Linked DNA regions of Homo sapiens: region 2 is linked to region 1. Evidence: promoter capture Hi-C in 16 types of primary human blood cells and fetal thymus (Javierre and others, 2016). All regions are on one chromosome and are shown on one strand. Each heading gives the region's core, a stretch centred on a gene start or on the middle of the fragment in contact. The rest is flanking DNA. Distances are from core to core; before and after follow the strand shown.

The links. Contacts are between HindIII fragments. The CHiCAGO score rates a contact against its expected background, and 5 or more counts as called.
Region 2: a contact is called between a fragment that was not itself captured here and the fragment with the promoter of CARTPT in region 1, in 1 of 17 cell types (M1 macrophages). The highest score is 5.0, in M1 macrophages.

What each region holds. Positions count from the first base shown.
Region 1 is chr5:71,717,704-71,721,183 of GRCh38, reverse strand. CARTPT (CART prepropeptide) reads right to left here and starts at 1,909. Exons shown (of 3, transcript NM_004291.4): 1 at 1,732-1,909; 2 at 1,221-1,304; 3 at 139-676. The coding sequence starts at 1,890. The coding sequence ends at 569. RefSeq lists an enhancer at 885-1,771. The HindIII fragment of the contact is 2,457 bases long and covers 300-2,756 here.
Region 2 is chr5:72,282,489-72,285,968 of GRCh38, reverse strand. The region is part of intron 4 of MRPS27 (mitochondrial ribosomal protein S27); the gene reads left to right. LOC107986422 (a long non-coding RNA gene) reads left to right here. Exons shown (of 2, transcript XR_001742742.2): 2 at 2,311-3,480. Among named protein-coding and RNA genes, the nearest start is that of MRPS27, 36 kb to the left of the region's middle. The HindIII fragment of the contact is 1,122 bases long and covers 1,141-2,262 here.

The DNA of each region.
Region 1 (3,480 bases), core at 660-3,159:
CAAAACTCCTTGGAGCTAAGGTGCCATTTTCCCAATAGGCTGCTATTTTTAAAATATTTTTCTTTGAAAACAACAGCATGATTAATCTCACCATTTCCACTTAAATTACTTATATGAAAACAGCAGTGCACTATGGGCAATTATTAAAAACACTTTATTATGTATAATTTGTACATGCTTCAATTTGTGTCACTTAGGGTGATTTATTTTCCAGGTTGTAATGACATCTACCGAGATTAGCTAGATCTAATTTTCATTCTGCCATGCCACATACAAAAATACAATTTTCAAACAAAGCTTCCCTTCTTTACACAAAGGTACACAAGAGTTTGTCAGACAAATAAAATAAGAATACTTCACACACGTATCAACACCATACAAGGCATTATTCTTCACACAGTAACATCTAATGTGTTCTTTTATTTTTGAAACAGCAGGAAAAGAGCCCTTTCCCTTCAGAGGAAAATAAAAACTTTATCTGTTGCTTAAGCCAAACTCCAGGGAGGAAGGTGTGGTCCTCTGGGGAAAGTAGAGGGATGGGGATGTATGGAGGAGAATGGACGCCCCTTCATAAGCACTTCAGGAGGAAGGAATTGCAGGAGGTTCCTCGGGGACAGTCACACAGCTTCCCGATCCTTGCCCCTTTCCTCACTGCACACTGCTCACCGGCGTCACACTGAAACAACAAAATGTGTGGTCATCGAGTATGAACAAACCCAGGTTCCCAACAGGCAAGTCTCACAGTCAACGCAATTTCTGTCTCTTGAAAGGGGCAATTGGACCCCATCACCATCACAAGAGGTCTACGTACAGTCAGATCTGAAACAGGGAGCCTTGTGCTTATAACCTCAGTGAGAGTACATTTTTTAAAGAAACTTACATTATTAGTTTTATCCTAGTTTCTTCCACCTTTAAGTGGCGAGGGTTGGGGGGCGTGGGAAGGGGAGCATCACATTTCCTGGCTCCTTTTCTTGCCCTCTCAGAGGGGAAAAAAATCAGACCTTTTTCCTGAGCAACAAACAATAGACTTACACTTTCTTACAACCCCTGTTCCTGCTTTCCCATTTCCTCACCCGGGAAGGAAGAAGGAGCCCACAGAATCCTGCAAGCCCATTACCTAAGTTATTTAGCCACATCCTACGGAGAAGACTGTGTGTACGATTCAAGGCGGTGTACTTTCTCTTGGAAAAACACGGGAAGGGAGTGACCACAAACCTTACCATGGGGACTTGGCCATACTTCTTCTCATAGATGGGAACACGTTTACTCTTGAGCTTCTTCAAGACTTCTTGCAGCGCTTCGATCTGCAACACACCGCTTCGGAGCCTGAAGTTGCCGCCTTGGCTGCGAGCCCAGCCCAGGTGCGCACTTCCAGCCCTAGTTATAAGGAGCCCCGGACCCACACGCACTCTGCGGTGGGACTCCGCGGACACAGGGAATGGTCGAGGGGTGGAAACTTAGCGGACGCTGTCCCAGGTACTGACCGCGGGTCTCTGAGCCGCTGGGGTCCCTGTTGCTCAGAGGGGCCGGGATGAGGGATTCGCTCAACAGACTGCCAGGAGCCCGTGAGCTCGAGACGCTCTTCGGATGGCAGTGGGTGCCTGGGCGTTGCGCTCAGCTCCCCGCGCCCTGACTCTGGGAATAGGAGTGGGGGTGGGGGGAGGAGGGAGGCGTGCAAGAGAAGAGACAAGGCGACAGCTCAAGGGGGTCGAGAGCGAGGGGAATACCGACCAGCTCCTTCTCGTGGGAGGCATCATCCACGGCAGAGTAGATGTCCAGGGCTCGGGGCTGGAGCTCGGCGTCCTCCTGGGCACGGGTACCCAACAGAGGTAGCATCAGCAGCAGGGCGGCGCCCAGGAGGGGCAGCAGCCTCACGCGGGAGCTCTCCATCGTTCTGAAACTCGTCGTTGCTGGGGCACCACGCGCTCCCACCTTTTATAGTGAGCCCGAGCCCCCGTGCAGGAAAGAGGGAGGAGGCGAAGAAGGAAGGGGGTGTGGAGGAGGGCCCGGGTCAACCGTCTGTAGGCAGCGCTCCGCCGGCGCTTGACGTCAATGCCCGCCGGGTTCCAGGCGCCTGGGAACGAGGCTCTGCGCACAGATGGGCTAGAGCGCAGAGAACAGGACCCTGCGCCCCCAAAGGCTGTCAGTCTCACGGCAAGGGATGCTCCCCGAGGGGCCTGAGCTGAAGCCGAGGGGCTAGAGGTGAGGGACGGGAAGCGGGAGGGGCCTAGGAAATGGAAAATGCCTTCGGGTCAATGCACAGGCAGGAGAGTCGTTTCCCAACACCTAGCAGTGGTGACAGCTGCAACATCCACCTCGCCAGCCCTGCCTTGCCTCGCACCCCAACCCCAAGTGTGGCGGTGAGAAGGGGGTGTTGCCTCCAGACAGCCACATTTGCTGAGCACCTTACTCTGTGGGGTAGGGGAAGCAAACATACTATACAAAAGAAAGAGAAATAGTGGCCCTCCACGTGATGGGTTCTATGATGGAATCTGTGTGACAATAGTTAAAAGAAGAGAGGGAAAACAGACAAACCCGGATTCAGCAGTGGTGTTGGAAGTGCAGAGAGCCAGGCTCTGGTTCCCATCCTGGCTACACCACGTAAAAGTTGTATGACTTTGAACAAAATGAAGAACCTCTCCAAGCCTCAGCTTTCTCTTTTGTAGATCTAGGATTAAAAAGATATACCTCACAAAGTCATCAGTAGGATGAAATGAGAGATTAAGTATGTCAAACTCCTGGTTCTTAGCTAAGCTTCCCTGTCCCTCCTTTTTGAACTTTGAGGCTGCCCAGGCAAATTTAACCATCCCCAGAACCTCCCCCCACCCACCACCAACCCTTGGTATCCAAGAAGCCTGTCTAGAAAGAGAGTAAAAGAGTGAAAAGAAAGACAGCTCCATGATTATGAAAATATCTCCAGAGATCAGAAGTCAATGGTGAACCAGCTCCCCAACAACTTGGGAGAACAATGTGGCTTTTTTAAAAGTTGAGATCCTTACAGCCTGAATGCACAGGAAAATTCCTGTAGGAAAAGCAATGCTTTCCCGCTTAGACCTGCTTGCTCACCTGGCTTCCTTCACCACACCATCTTTCCCTCAACTGTTCCTAAATTCATCCACTCTTCTCCATCCCCATTACTACAACCCAGTCCTAGACAGCTGCCCCAGTCAACTTAATGTCTACCACTTAATCCCCACCCTATCTTCTCTTGCCTTCCTCTACTCCATAGTTCACCACCAACCAGAGTATTTTTCCCCTTAAAATACACTAATGACTCCTAATCTTACTAAGCACTGAATCTAGATTCCTCATCCTGACTTGCAAAGCATTATATGATCTTCACCCCTCTCCACCTCATGTTCTACCACTCTGCCCCAGACTCCTCCACTCCAACCTCACATGGCCTTCTTTCTGGTCCTCTAGCAGGCCAATCTCATTCATACTTTGATGTCTTTGCACTTACCCCTCCTTGAAAGGTCT
Region 2 (3,480 bases), core at 452-2,951, 560 kb before region 1:
TCTGTAAGACAAATGATTTTCAGCTCTGTTTATACGGGAAATTTTAAAGCCAGTAGAGGCTTTGAGAGTATTTTTTAATGCACTAAAACTGTGGTATATTCAAAGGAAGGATATTATATAATCCCAACAATAAAAAAATATTACAACTAGGTGCAGTGGCTCATGCCTGTAATCTCAACACTTTGGTTGACTGAGGTGGAAAGATCCCTTGAAGTCAGGAGTTTGAGATCAGCCTGAGCAACATAGTGAGACTCCGTTTCTACAAAAATGTTTTTAAAGATTAGCTGGTCATGGTGGTGTGTGCCTATAGTCCTAGCAACTCAGGAAGCTAAGGCTGGGCCTTGTTGTCCTAACTACTTAGGAGGCTGATTCCAGAAGTTCAAGGCTACAATGAGCTATGATCGAGCCACTGCACTCCAGCCTGAGTACTAGAGCAAGACCCTGTCCCCCTCCCAAAAAAAGATTATTAGATGGTTGAAGATCATTAGATACGTGAAACAATTCAAAATCAACACAAATCCAGGATATGATAAGTAGATAAATTTACTGAATTTATGTAACAAAATGTAAGTTTTAGAGAAAACATGTTTTGAGCAGGCTAGAAGAAGGATTGATGTTGTTATCAGCAAACATTTATAAAAGAGGTAGAACTTAAGATAGCCTTGAAGGTTAGATGAGTAGAGGAAACAGGAGCAAGTGTTCAAGATGGAACAAATCGTACAGCTGGAGTTAGAAGGAGGAAGTGAGAACTAGCTTTATGGAAACTGCCTTAACCAGAGAGATCAGGGTTTGTTGGGGAATAATGAGAAATAAGGAAGGCAGATTAGAGAGGGAATAGAATGTTGGCAGGAGAGAAGGGAGGGTTCAAAATCTGTCATTATCATACATTGCTAGTGGATATATAAATCGGTACAACTTGTATAGATAGAACTTTGGCAGCATCTGTCAAAATTATAAGTACAATACCCTCTGGCCCAATAATTCCACCTCTAGGAATTTAACCTCCTGATACACTCATATTCATGCCAAAAATGTCCATTGCAAAAAGTAAAAGATTACGTCCATCAATAGAAGCCTGTTTAATTATTCTACAGCTGTACAGTGGAATACTGTGCAGTGATTGAAAAGAATGAGGAAGCTTTATTTGTATTTCCTATTGAATAAATTGTGAAATGTATTAAGTGAAAAAAACAAGAGTAGGACTTAGTGTGTGATGTAGCCACTGTGGTTTATGTGTAATATGTATACATGTGCTTTGATGCTTATGTGTATATATGTATGTGTGTACATAAAATATCTCTGGAATGATACACACAAAAACTGGTAACATTGGTTTCTTTTAGGGAAGAAACCTGGATGACTTCTCATTGAATTGTCTCTTGTAACTTTTGAATTTTATATCATGGGTGTATATTACTTATTCAAAAAATACATATTTTTCATTTCTTCCCTTCCCTTCCCTCCCCCCTTCTCTTTTTCCATCTCTCTCTCTCACACACACACACAGAAGGAAATTAACCAAATTTTTTTTTTTTTTTTAATTTAAAGACAGGGTCTCACTCTGTTGCCCAGGCTGGCATGCAGTGGCAGGATCTTAGCTCACTGTACCCTCAACTTCCCAGGCTCAGGCAATTGTCCTACCTCAGCCTCCCAGGTAGCTAGGACTTTAGGCGTATGCCACCATGCCTGGCCTTTTTGGTGGTGTTTTTTTTTTTTTTTTTAGAGATGGGGTCTCACAATGTTGCCCAGGCTGGTCTTGAACTCCTGGACTCAAGCAATCCACCTGCCTCGGCCTCCCAAAGTGCTGGGATTATAGGCATGAGCCACCACACCTAGCCTGAAAAAATATTTTTTAAAAGATCCTCAAGATAGTCATCTGCAGATTCTTAAGAAGTATATATCATAATAAAAGTATTTCAGAAAGATTTATAACAGGGTAAATTTTTTATTAAAATTGGTAAATGTTATAAGGAAATTGTCTATGCATATAGAGAAAAAAGACCTGTCCTGTGGTAGTAGACAGTGGAAATAAAGAGAGAAATGTACATAGGAGGGAAAAAATTGGATCAGCAGGATTAATGGCAGGTTGAATGTAGAGACAGAAAACAAGGAGAGTCAAAAATGAACTGAAAATTGAACCTCAGTGGGAAAGTGGCTTGTACATGATAGAAGTATTGAATTGGAAGCAGATTTAGAAGGCAGCAAGAGGGTGAGTTTTTCTTTTGCCTTTTTTTTTTGTACGTACACATTTCTTTCTAAGCTTGCTGGATCATATCTTGCCTACTTGACCATACTTGGACTGTTTGACAGGAACTGGCCACAGACCTTTGGAGAAAGAACAATTGCCAAAACATACCCATTGGGTCTTCCTGGTGTATTGGCACTAGTTGGAAAATTTTAGACCAGATGACCTCTGAAGTCCTGCCAACTTCCGGAATCTGAAATTGCAACCTGGATAGACTAAGTGAGTCCCTTGGAGCCATGTGACAAGTCCAAGCTCCAGCTGTGGATGAGGCCTGACTTCAAGTTCAGAAGCTCATCAGCTAGCCCAGTGTATCTCTTTGTGTCAGTTTTTTTTCCTAAGCAGTTTCAGTAATATACCAAAAGATACAGACTCAATGAACATTTTGAAACCTCCTAACAGTGTGACATAGAATTAATTAAACCTAGAAAAAAATTAACATAAAAAGAAATTCAACAATGAAAATGTATTATCTTGTGGGGGAGGTACTAAAAAGACCCTGAAGGAGTCAGGATGGGAAGAAAGAGGTGACTGGGGTCTTAGGACCAGTTTAGTCCCCACTTTGATCTGTAGCTTTGAACTAGTTAGTGAACTCTCTGGACATCAGCTTTCTAGATGAGCAGATCATCTTGGATGCCTCCCAAGGCACTTCCCATAGCTAAAACATAATGTTTCTTAATGTCACTGATAAGATTTTATCACCAGATGCCTCAGACTTTGAAAGCATGTAGCTCTGGCTTTTTGTTTAGTTTCTCACGCAGAATTTTATTCACTTTAAAATTGAAGTTCCAGCCGCCTTAACTATGAATATCAAGAGAAAAACTAATAGATGTAAAAGTAAACAACAGAAAGGGTAGAAGATCTCTTATTCTCTTCTGGATTTAGGTGACAGACTTCATTTACTATCTTGTTTGTGAATATATTTAGTAAATTTTGTGGTATGAGAAGTTGGGTATCCACTCTTATTTATCCTCTAGGTAACTAATTTTTATACATATGTACTTGCCTTTTTCCTGCAAGGCCCACAAACCACATGTTTTTGATGCCTTGTATATACATGAGATTTAAAAGGAGAAGGCTAAAGTAAATCTGTTCTAATAGCTACAGAACCATTTGTAAATTAAACCTTAAACTCCTAAAATTTCACATAAGAATATGTATCCAAGTTCTTTTTTTTCTACAGTATAAACCCCTTTTATTGAAAAATATTTCTCCTGCCTATTTTTATAATTGTAAAG